Linked DNA regions of Homo sapiens: regions 1 and 3 are each linked to region 2. Evidence: promoter capture Hi-C in 16 types of primary human blood cells and fetal thymus (Javierre and others, 2016). All regions are on one chromosome and are shown on one strand. Each heading gives the region's core, a stretch centred on a gene start or on the middle of the fragment in contact. The rest is flanking DNA. Distances are from core to core; before and after follow the strand shown. Region 1 has its middle 15 kb from the start of KRT8. Region 2 holds the start of KRT80 (keratin 80). Region 3 has its middle 28 kb from the start of EIF4B.

Region 1 (3,892 bases), core at 552-3,051, 730 kb before region 2:
GACAGGGTCTTGCTGTGTTGTCCAGGCTGGTCTTGAATTCCTAGCCTCAAGCCATCCTCCCACTTTGGCCTTCCAAAGTGCTGGGATTACAGGTGTGAGCCACTGTGCCAAGCAGTGCACATTGCTTTTAATCCTGAGGCTCAGTGTTCTCCACTCTAGAATGCAGATAATGCTTATTTTATAGTTTCTGTAAGAATTAAAAGCTTTACCACCTTAAGGAAACTGCTAGGCCATGGGGGAATAGCTGAACCCATGCCCAGCTCTGGGAGATCCGGCCACAGCTGGGGATGCACAATCAGAGGCTCCAGGCTGGAGGGCTGGAGGGAGAAGCCTGGGAGGAATAGTCCATCTGGGAGGGCTTCCTGAAGGAAGTCCTTGGGGGTAGAGCCAGGCTAGAGGGACACAAAGAGAGAGGAAGGAGGGGCCCTGGGCCTGTGCACTGCATAAGTGAAGAGGGAGTTTGTGCAGGAGCTGGCAGTCAAGTAGGATAGGGTCAGGCCATGGGGGCCTGGGGGTGGAGGTTTAGTGTGGTGACATGTGGGAGCCATCGAAGCCATAGAACTGTGGGTCCAGGAGGAGGACTAGGGAGTTTGACTTTTGCAGCTGGACAATTGTGAGCAAGAAGTACTGGTCCTCTCCCTCAGAGAGGCTTTCCCTCCTTTGCCTTCCATGTTCTGGAGGCTGCTGTTGCTACTTAAGCTTCTCTTAATGTTCCCTGGATGGTCACCCAGGAAACTTGGGGAGGCAAGGAAGGAGAGAGAAGGTAGAATGTGGCCTTGGGGAATAGATGGCCTCTGCCTGGAGTTCTGTAGGGAATGCATAAACACACAATTAGTTGTGTTGCCATGGGAACTTGACTAACAGGTCCCTGAGGCTAAGCTGGCCTGGGCTGGCCTGGGCTTAGCCCATTCCCACCATCCAGGTCAACAGATTTTCCTAAAGGCCTATGAATGGGTCATTGTATCTGAGTTGGGGTTATCTTAGTCCTTAGAGACCAGGGAATGGGGTGGGGGCAGGTTGGTTACAGAGTGGTGGGTAGCAGGTCTTTTCTTTAGCTGAGCTGCGTGCTCTCTAGAGTCTCTCTGTCTCATTTTCTGTCTTACAGACATATATGCACACATGCAGGGTCTTGCTATGTCGCTGGTTGTCCAGGCTGGTCTTGAACTCCTGGCCTCAAGTGATCTTCCCTTGGCCTTCCAAAGTACTGGGATTACAGGTGTGAGCCACTGTGCCTGGCTGGGCACAGGCTTACCTGGCAGGCTGGTTCAGCCATTTGTGAATTCGTTCATCATATACTGGTGGAGTGCCTGTTAGATGTCTTTCTAATGCTGTGGATGTGACGGTCAACAACATAGTCAAGGTCTCTGCCCTCATGGGGCTGTCCATTTTTAATTTTTTTTCAGATGGAGTTTCGCTCTTGTTGCCCAGGCTGGAGTGCAATGGCACAATCTCAGCTCACCCCAACCTCTGCCCCCTGGGTTCAATCAATTCGCCTGCCTCAGCCTCTTAAGTAGCTGGGATTACAGGCATGTGCCACCATGCCTGGCTAATTTTGTATTTTTAGTAGAGATGGGGTTTCTCCATGTTGGTCAGGCTGGTCTCAAACTCTTGACCTCAGGTGATCTGCCTGCCTTGGCCTCCCAAAGTGCTGGGATTACAGGCGTGAGCCACCGTGCCTGGGCTGGGGCTGTCCATTTTGATGGGGAGAGGTCCCCCAAGTCTGCCAGAATCCCTACTGTAGGAGAGGTAGTACAGATGCTCAATAAATAAATGTAATATAGCTCTTTTGGATTGCTAAATAAAATAATAAACATGTTTTGAATCCTCCCTTTTGAGTTATTGACATTATTACATCTCTTAATGGACATAATTGGATCCTGACTATAAAACAGCATAATTGAAAAGAGAATGTTCAAGCTCTAAAATTACTCCAGACTTGGGTTCAATTCCTGTCTCTGTCACACTAACCAAAGGACCTTGGGCTTTAGTTTCCTTGTCTGTAAAATGAGAACAATGTTACCTTCCTCATGGATTAGTTTAGGATTATAAATAATAGGTGCGGTGGCTCACGCCTGTAATCCCAGCACCTTGGGAGGCCAAGGCAGGCAGATCCCCTGAGGTCAGGAGTTCAAGACTAGCCTGGCCTACATGGTGAAACCCTGTCTCACTAAAAATACTAAAATTATCCGGGCATGGTGGTGCAGGTCTTTAGTCCCAGCTACTTGGGAGGCTGAGGCAGGAGAATAGCTTGAGAACCCAGGAGGTGGAGGTTGCAGTGAGTCAAGATCGTGCCACTGCACTCCAGCCTGGGCAACAGAGCAAGACTCCATCTCAAAATAAAATAGACTAAAATAAAATAAAATAATATATAATATATGTAAGAGATCTGACACTTTGACACTTGGTAGGAACCCTGAAAATGAAAGCCATGGCTGGGCATGGTGGCTCACACCTGTAATCCCAGCACTTTGGGAGGCTGAGGCGAGCAGATCACTTGGGGCCAGCAGTTTGGGACCAGCCTGGTCAACATGGTGAAACCCTGTCTCTACTAAAAATACAAAAACTTAGCAGAGAGTGGTGGTACATGCCTGTAGTCCCAGCTACTTGGGAGGCTGAGACAGGAGAATTGCTTGAACCCGGGAAGCGAAGGTTGCAGTGAGCTGAGGTAGTGCCACTACATGCACTCCAGACTGGGTGACAGAGTGAGACTCTGTCTCAAAAACAAAAAAACAAAAAAGAAACCCATCATGATCACCATGGTTCCCAATCCTAATCACTACCACTGCCACCATCATTGGCAGGGAAAGGAGCCCTGGGTTGAGAGTTGGGGAAAGCAAGTGGGCGTCAGTAGGCAGGGCTCTGTTTGCATGGCTAGCTCCCTAGGAATTGGATTTGCAAGCTTCTGTTTTGCATAATGGCGGATTTTTACATGCTATTTCTTTATTACTATCCTATAAGCTCCTCCTTATAGACCCAATTGCCACCTCCTAGTTACCCTCCACCCTGCTGAGCTAGCACTTTCTTCCACTTGACCACCTACCCTGGGAAGAGGCAGCAGACACTGTTCTGTTCTGCAAGGAGGTTATTTCATGCAGGGAAACACAAGGCTTAAACTCTCACAAGGCAAATGTATCAAAGTGATGTGAACACAAGTTCCATGGGGGAGGGTGGTCTGAAGGTGGTGAGGGAATGGGGGAAATTGTGTGGAGAAAGGCTTTGGGAAAGGCTGGGGGACAAGCAGGGAGGGTTGGTGAGAGTCAAGCTAACATGTCTTGAAAACCTGCTATTTTAGGCACTGTTCCTTACCTGATGATCATGTCAGTCTTCTGAGGTAGTTGTTACTATCTGCATTTTCAGCTGGTGAAGTAACTCTTAACACCATTAGGAAGTGGCTGCGAAATTCTTCTGGTTGCACCCTCTGTCCTTTGGGTTTTGGTCACACATGGCTTTGGGGCAGCAGAACATGCATGGGCAGGCTCGGGGCAGCTGCACCTGCGCGGCGTCTGTCTGGCGGGGCTCAGATGCCAGTTCTTCCCTTCACAGCTGTGTGAATGTAGGCACTTTTCCATCTCGGCCTGGTGGGATCTTTATGAATTTAAATGAGGTGATGCATGCAGCGCATACAGTAGGCCTGCATGTTTCTGAGGCTCCAACAACCCAGCTGATACAGTAGAGGCCCCTTGACCTTCTGCCTGAACCCTCCTCATGAACTTCCCAGTTGACGCAGACTCTGTTTTGTTTCTTCTTCTTCTTCTTCTTCTTCTTCTTCTTCTTCTTCTTCTTCTTCTTCTTGTTCTTCTTCTTCTTCTTCTTCTTCCTCTTCCTCTTCTTCTTCTTCTTCCCCTTCTCCCTCTCCCTCTCCCCCTCCTTCTTCTTCCTCTTCTTCTTCTTC
Region 2 (3,988 bases), core at 439-2,938:
TCTGGCCTTGGCAGAGCCCAGACGCCACTGCTGCCCCCTCCCTTCCCCACAGAGTACACAGGGGTGACGGGTGGGGGGCAAGGTGCTGTGCTTGACCACATGCCATTCGGATGCCAGGCCAGAGTGAGGACGGTGGGAGGCCAAGGTGGCCCCACACGTGGGTGTTGAGTGGGGAGCGTGGCGCACGTCAGTCACCCACCAGTGCCTCGCTACCCTACCCGGCACCAGATCCTGGGATCAGGCTTAGGATGGACCCGTGGCCTCTAGACAGGGTCCTGTGCCCTTGTGAGCCAGAAGTGCCTAGTGTGTGAAAAAGATGTCTGCCCTGGAGGTGGAGGCCCAGGGTCCGCGATGTGACTGGCAAATGGTTCTCCCCGCTCAGGGGCTCTCTCTTCCTCTGGGCCCAGAGGGGGCTGCTACCCCTTCTATCTCTGACCATCTGTGACTCTCCCAGACACACTCCTCTCTCTGCTCTGGCCCCTGCCACCCAGAGCAGGATTGAGCCAGGTCCAGGAAAGACATGCAGATCCAGCCACCAGGGCCAGAACATCAGGACCACCAGGCCAGGAAAGGAGACGCAGGGCTGGGAGAGCTGGTAACCCCCTGGGGTGGGAGAGTGGGGTCTCAGGAACTGTGGAAAGGTAGGCATTGCCCTGGGCCAGGTGGGCCTCTGCCGCCCTGTCAGAGGCTCTGTGGGGGCAAAATGGGGTCTTTTCTATTTCTACTTCACAGATGGTGTAAAAGAGGTCAAAGGAGGCAGAGAAGAGAAAGAAGAGTGGGGAGGAAAGAGTGTGAGGAAGGCAGGGATTCTCATTGCCCCAGAGCAGAGCTGCATTCAGCCATACCCATCGCCCCTGCTAGACTCAGCACCCGGAAGGCAGTACCACTGATTGAGGCCAACTTTGTCCCCTGTCCTCTACCAAGTGCTTTGTACATGCTACCTCCTGTGAGGTGGGTGTTTTCATCCCCACTTTACAAATGAAGACAAAAGTCAAGTAACGTGCCTGAGGTCACATGAGTGGTGAGCAGTCCAGCTGAGTCTTGAACCAGGTCTCACATTTCCAATGCTGAGAGCTCCTTGGCCTTGACCGTCTATGTCCTCCCAGCCTCTGAGACAGTAGGGTGTACATAGTAGGTCCTCAATCAATGCTAGTTAAAGTGAAGGAAGGAAGGAAGGGAGAGGGGGTAGAAGGAAGGGGGAAGATAAGCCAGGGAGACTCTTTGGCAGCCAGAAAATAAATAATAAGTGCTGTTTTCCAGTGCCAGGCTGGCACGGTGCCCAGGATAGCTGCCCTACACTCGGGAGCTCAAGGCCTATGCTTGACTCATCTTTTCCAGAAGTATGTGAGCCCAGATACGTCAGCCTTCAAGTATGCAGTGAGGTCTGCGGTGAGGCGCTCTCTCTTCTCTCCTGCCCCCTTGAATGGCCTTCCTTTTGCCAACTCCCCACCCCCAACCCACCCGGCCAGTCCAGCCTTGGCCCCCTCCCCAGAGCTAGGCCTGCTTTCTTTGGGGCAGGGGGCTGTGGACCAGCCCCCTAAGCAATGCAGATACCTGTTGGGAGGGAGACCTACATGCTGCTGGGGGAGGGGCGGGAGCACCCACATCATCCAACAGGTTGGTCAGGCTGGGAGGCGTCCCGCCCTCCTGCAGCTAATGAGCACTGTGCAACAGGTGTCTGCTCCTCAGTCCCCAGCCCGCCCCAGCTGTGACCAGAGCAACCAGAGCCTGCCACCCGACGCAACCCCAGGCTCACTCGCTCACCCCCCTGGGCCCTCCTGCTTCCGGCCGGGGGCACCATGGCCTGCCGCTCCTGCGTGGTTGGCTTCAGCAGCCTCAGCAGCTGTGAGGTGACCCCGGTGGGCAGCCCCCGGCCTGGAACCTCAGGATGGGACAGCTGCAGGGCCCCCGGGCCGGGCTTCAGCTCCCGCAGCCTCACAGGCTGCTGGTCGGCTGGCACTATCTCCAAGGTGACTGTGAACCCCGGCCTGCTGGTGCCCCTGGATGTCAAGTTGGACCCCGCTGTTCAGCAGCTGAAGAACCAGGAGAAGGAGGAGATGAAGGCCCTCAATGATAAATTTGCCTCCCTAATTGGCAAGGTGAGCACAAGTAGGGGGTCCCAAACATGAAGGGCTGCCAGGCCTGGGCCGGTAGCTGAGCTCTGTGTTTCCCTGAGCATCGATCACCGCGCCCCACCCCTGCACCCAGCCAATGGGGAGATGGCACTGCTAACCCGACAGGCTAGCTCTGAGCAGAGGCTGGGGGAGGGAAGTCCCTGATCCATCCTGGCATGTGGGGAGAAAGGGACCCCAGGATGGCCTTTGAGGGATGTGTTGATAATAACATGCTGCATGACCTGGGGTCACCCACCACCCAGGCAGGGACTGGGGAGGACCACCTAGTGTGGCCAGGGGTGCCCTCTCGCAGGAATGGCTGATGGAGGCATGCTCTGCGGTCCTACTCTGAGGCAAGTGGACAGGGGAGATGGCCTCCCAGGCACCACGCTCCTGTTTATCCCTCAAGCCTCTGGTCCCACAGCATCTCTCTCAGCTGCCCCAGTCAGAAAAGCCAGCAGGGTGGAGGGTGAGTGCGGGGCTGCTGGAAGGAGGTTGCTGCCCAGACTGCTGCAAGTGAGGGTGCAGCTCAGGTGTCAGGAGATAGGAATGCAGGGGACGATGCCTCGAGTCAGAACAGGGAAGCCAGTTGGGCCTTCCTGCACCCTGCGCCCCTCCTGACTGCGGGAGGTGCATCCTCAGCATCACAACCACACTTCCTAGACTCCACTACCCATGGCCTGCAACAGGTCTGGGGCACTCGTGTCCACCTCTGCTCCCAGGGCAAGGGAGCTCCCAAGGAAGTTATCCACTTCCCAAATCTGTTCTTTACTCATCTTCTCCAAGAAACTCCTCCTGACTCTGCACCCTCCTGCACCCTCAAGAATAATCATGATAGTGCCAGCTGCCATTGGTTAATTGCTTACTATGTGCCAGGCACTGTGCTGATGCTTTTCAGGTTTATCTGTATTTCTCTCAACAACCTTATGGGAGAAGACAATTTTATGTCCATTTCACAGATAAGGAAAACTGTACATTTCTGAACCTGCCAGTAAACCAGAGGTCCAGCCTTCAGCCCCTGGCTCAGTCCTTGTCTGCTCTTGGCCTCTGATTCTGTGTTCCTCTGCATGTTGCTGGTCTCCCCCATGAGGTGGGAGCTCACAGAGAGGGGCAGAGGGAAGAAAGTAACATGCATTGAGCATCTACTTATGCCTTGCCCTCTGGAGGAACATTGCAAATGCAATGAAATTCAAGCCACACTGCCACCCTGCAGTGGCTGTTATTTTCCCAACTGTGCAGATGAGGAAACTGAGGACCAGCAAGGCTAAGTGCCTTGCCCAAGATCACACAACCAGCAAATGGTAGTCTGGATTTGAACTCAGGTCTGTTGAGACACGAAGTCAGTGGTCTCTGTGGTGGGAATCTTTTCTTTCCTTCTTCCATTCATGTGCCTAGACCAGAGTTTCATCATCCACACCTGGGGTACCCCTGGGTACCCAGAGGGGAAGGACCACAGTCCACTGAGGCAGAGCATCCCTTCCCCCAGCCCTAACTGCACAGAGCCTTGCATTGCTGAGCTGGTTCTCCCTCTAAGAGCAGCCCAGCTGCCCTGGGGAGGCAGGTCCCTAAAGAGCCACCTCCTGACCAAACCCAGTTTAATCCCTTAGAAGGAATGCTTCACTGAGCTATGGAATTTGGCTCAGATGGGTGGTTTTCTCCCTCAAACGCCAGCACTGATATCACCCTGTGCCCCTGCCATGGGGATGGGAGGATATAAGCACAGGGAAGAGGCCCTCAGGGTTGGGGTCCTGTGCCCAGAGACCAGGGCAATGCCCTTGAAGTTCTTTAGCAGAATTGGAGCCTCCCAACCCTTAGCCTTGACCTTGAGATGGGGTGCCCTTCAGGGTGGGACACAGGGAGCTGTGGGTACTGGC
Region 3 (3,852 bases), core at 539-3,038, 790 kb before region 2:
TGCAAAAAGAGGAGCTGGAACACAGAGTCAGGGCACTGGCCATGGAGTCTGGATGCTTCCTGGGTCACGGAAGGGTTTTAAGTAGGTGAGGGATATTATGAGATCTAGTTTTATCTATTTATTATTTATTTATATATTTTTTAGAGGTGGTCTTGCTCTGTTGCCCAGGCTGGTCTCAAACTTCTGGGCTCAAGAGATTCTCCCACCTCAGTCTCCCAAGTAGCTGGGACCACTGGGCCTGGCACACATTTATTTTTATTTTTATTTATTTATTTTTTTGAGATGGAGTCTTGCTCTGTCACCCAGGCTGGAGAGTAGTGGCACCATCTTGGTTCACTGCACCCTCTGCCTCTTGGGTTCAAGTGATTCTCCTGCCTCAGCCTCCTGAGTAGCTGGGACTATGGGCACCTGCCACCATGCCCGGCTAATTTTTTTTTTTTTTTTGGTAGAGATGGGGTTTTGCCACATTGGCCAGGCTGGTTTTGAACTCCTGACCTCAGGTGATCCGCCCACTTTGGCTGGGATTACAGGTGTGAGCCACCAAGCCCGGCTGAGATTTATTTTTAAAGAAGACCATGTTGGCTGGTGTGTGGAGGAAGGCTGAGTGGTTACTGGTGGCCATGAGAAGACTTTCTGTTAGGAAGATGTTGCAGTGATAGTACAGAGGACAGATGCCTACAGCCTGGATGTGGGGTGTGGATGGGGAGAAAGGAATAGATTTGGACTTACTGTGGAAGTAGGGTTATTAATTTATTAGATCCATAGGGTAGACCAAGAGAGAAGGAGGTGTCAAATATGATTCCCAGGTTTCTGGCACAAGCAATTAGATGGATGGTGTGTCATTTACTAAGATGAACAAGAATTATGAAGCTGGTGGGAGCTAAGATCAATAATCCAGTTTTGAACAGGTTAAATTTGAGATGCCTAAGAGTCATCTAAAAAGAGGCATTAAGTAGAATATTCCATAGGCTGCTCTGGAGCTCACAAGAAAGGTCTGGTTGGACATCACAATCTGGAAGTCTTTGGTCTATAGAAGATGCAATTAAAACCAGGGCAAGGTATGAGATGACTCAAGAAAATAGTCCCTATTAATAAGAGAATAGGGGCCAGGACCCAGCCCTGAGGAACATCAACTTTATATCAGGTCAATTTATAGATCAGAAACATCAAGTTACAGACCATGTCAAGGAGGGTGAGTGGGGAAAAGGGACCGAGAAACTATAACTAGAGAAAAGCCTGGCACGAGGTGTCTGGGAGACTAGGAAGGAGAGTGTTTCAAGAAGGAGGGAGAGGCTGGGTGCTGTGGCTCATGCCTGTAATCCCAGCACTTTGGGAGGCCGAGGCAGGTGGATCACCTGAGGTCAGGAGTTCGAGACCAGCCTGGCTAACATGGTGAAACCCTGTCTCTACTAAAAATACAAAAAATTAGCCAGGTGTGGTGGCACACGCCTATAATCCCAGCTACTTGGAAGGCTGAGGCAAGAGAATCGCTTGAACCTGGGAGATGGAGGTTGCAGTGAGCCAAGATCATGCCACTGGACTCCAGCTTGGGCAACAAGAGTGAAACTCCATCTCAAAAAAAAAAAAAAAAAAAAAAGAAGGAGGGAGCATGCAGCTGCTGGAAGCTAAGTGGTCAAGGAACAAAAGGAATGTCAAGTGTCCATCGATTTCAACAACATGGAGGTCTCTGGGAACCTTGGCTAGTGCAGCTTCTGAGGAGCCATACGAGCTGAGCCAGCCTGGAGGGGCTGAAGAGTGAACTGGGTGAGGAAGGGGAAAGCCTGTGTGTAGACCTCTTTTGAGAATAATGTAAGGCCAGATGCAGTGACTCAAGCCTGTAACCCCAGCACTTTGGGAAGCCGAGGCAAGTGGATCACCTGAGGTCAGGAGTTTGAGACCAGCCTGACCAACATGATAAAACCCCATCTCCACTAAAAATACAAAATTAGCCAGGTGTGGTGGCGCATGCCTATAATCCCAGCTACTTGGGAGGCAGAGGCAGGAGAATCACTTGAACCCTGGAAGTGGAGGTTGCAGTGAGCCGAGATCGCGCCACTGCACTCCAGCCTGGGCAACAAGAGCAAAACTCTGTCTCAAACAACAACAACAACAACAACAACAACAACAACAAAACAACAACAAAACGAGAGAGAATGATGTAAGATGCTTAGCTATGAGAAGGAACAGAGAGCTGGCCAGGCGCAGTGGCTCACGCCTGTAATCCCAGCACTTTGGAAGGCTGAGGCGGGTGGATCACCTGAGGTCAGGAGTTCGAGACCAGCCTGGCCAATGTGGTGAAACACCATCTCTAGTAAAAATACAAAAATTAGCTGGGTGTGGTGGTGGGCACCTGTAATCCCAGCTACTCGTGAGGCTGAGGTAGGAGAATCACTTGAACCTGGGAGGCAGAGGCTGCAGTGAGCTGAGATCACACCATTGCACTCCTGCCTGGGTGACAGAGTGAGATTCCGTCTCAAAAAAAAAAAAAAAAAAAAAAGAGAGAAGGAACAGAGAGCTGCAAGGGAAGGTGGTCCAGGGAGCTTGTTTTCAGGTGGGCAACCCTGGAATTGTTGAGGGAGAGAAGAGAGAAGAGAGGGGGAGAAATCTCATGTGGGGGGGAGGGGAAAGGGTCAGCGGGTGGTATGAAGAGGGACTGGGTTCCAGACCTCTGCCCATGCTTTTTCCTCTACCTGTGATGCCCTTTCTGACCTCACTGCCTGCTCACCCTACAAGACAAGACTTTGTCTCTACCCACTCACAGCATGTTTAATAGCGGATCCTGGCTCTTACCATATGCTACTGAAGACAGAGACTATGACAGAAGTATAAGTCCCCCAGCACTGTGTCTGACACACATTTGGAGGACAGCCCGGGGCAGGGTGGGAGGTGAACGGTGAAGTGTCAGCACCCTGCCTGGACATTATGGTGGTGGAGTGAGGGCGATGTTTGAGGGGGTGAATGGCAGACTGACTGAGAGAATCTCAGCTGTTCCTCTCAGTGGCTCTTTCTAATACTTTTTAATTTTGTTTGTTTGTTTGTTTGTTTGTTTCCTGCAGGAGTGGAGCCCTGACAGTTCCCAGACCCTCTCACATACTCTCTCAAGGAATCCAGCTTAATGGATCAGCCCACTGTAGACAAAAAAACAGAAAACAGAAAATGGATCCAGAACCCAGACTCCCATCAGTCCCACCACATAGCCAGCAGGAGGTCAGGGGTGAGGGGGGCAGGCTGGGGTTTAGTGGGGGCCTGCATTCCTTTCTCTCTGCACGGCGGCAGGGCTTCTCAAGTATTCTCTAATTAAGATGAGAAGCAGAAGCAGGGGCTCTCTGGAATGTAAACAGCAGATAAGATCAGGCACCCTCCTCCCTGGGAAACTTCCATTTTCCTTCTTTTAGGATGGACACTGCATTCTTTCCCCGCTGCAGTCTTTGGCTCCCCAGTTCTTTCCATCCCCCCTCCCTCAGCCCTTGTCTCTGTCTTTGAGTCTCTGTCTGCATCCCTTATGGCTCCCTCATCTGGTACAGGGCTTGTGCATTGGAACCCAGAGGGGAACCTCTCATTTCATCAGTATATGGACATCTCCCAGGTTCAGGCTGGGAGTTTTTGACCCTTGCTATGGGCTTCTCTCTCCTGTCTCTTCTAGGAGGACAGAGCAGGCTCCATCATTGTACCAAGGCAATGTTCATTCAAATAAACAATGCCAGCCAACATGTGGGGCCAGGCACGCCAAGTACTAAAGGGACCATCTTGATGAGTGGTGCTCATAAGAGGTGTCAGAGGAGGAGACAGCATTGGCAGGCAGCCTGAGGGTGGCAGCCGAGTTACGGGGAAGGCTTCAGGGAGGAGGCGTGA

Evidence for each region. The method cuts DNA at HindIII sites, captures the fragments that hold promoters and counts their contacts. A CHiCAGO score of 5 or more calls a contact.
Region 1: a fragment that was not itself captured here is called in contact with the fragment with the promoter of KRT80 in region 2 in 2 of 17 cell types (endothelial precursors and total CD8 T cells); the score reaches 6.4 in endothelial precursors.
Region 3: a fragment that was not itself captured here is called in contact with the fragment with the promoter of KRT80 in region 2 in 2 of 17 cell types (endothelial precursors and total CD4 T cells); the score reaches 8.2 in endothelial precursors.

The regions. Positions count from the first base shown.
Region 1 is chr12:52,918,106-52,921,997 of GRCh38, reverse strand. It overlaps a transcript of KRT8 not described here. Among named protein-coding and RNA genes, the nearest start is that of KRT8, 15 kb to the right of the region's middle. RefSeq lists enhancers at 2,958-3,457, 3,458-3,892. The HindIII fragment of the contact is 2,200 bases long and covers 702-2,901 here.
Region 2 is chr12:52,189,714-52,193,701 of GRCh38, reverse strand. It overlaps KRT80 (keratin 80), which reads left to right and starts at 1,688. Exons shown (of 9, transcript NM_182507.3): 1 at 1,688-2,099. The coding sequence starts at 1,800. The HindIII fragment of the contact is 31,387 bases long and covers 1-3,988 here.
Region 3 is chr12:52,976,395-52,980,246 of GRCh38, reverse strand. No RefSeq gene overlaps it. Among named protein-coding and RNA genes, the nearest start is that of EIF4B, 28 kb to the left of the region's middle. The HindIII fragment of the contact is 5,548 bases long and covers 1-3,852 here.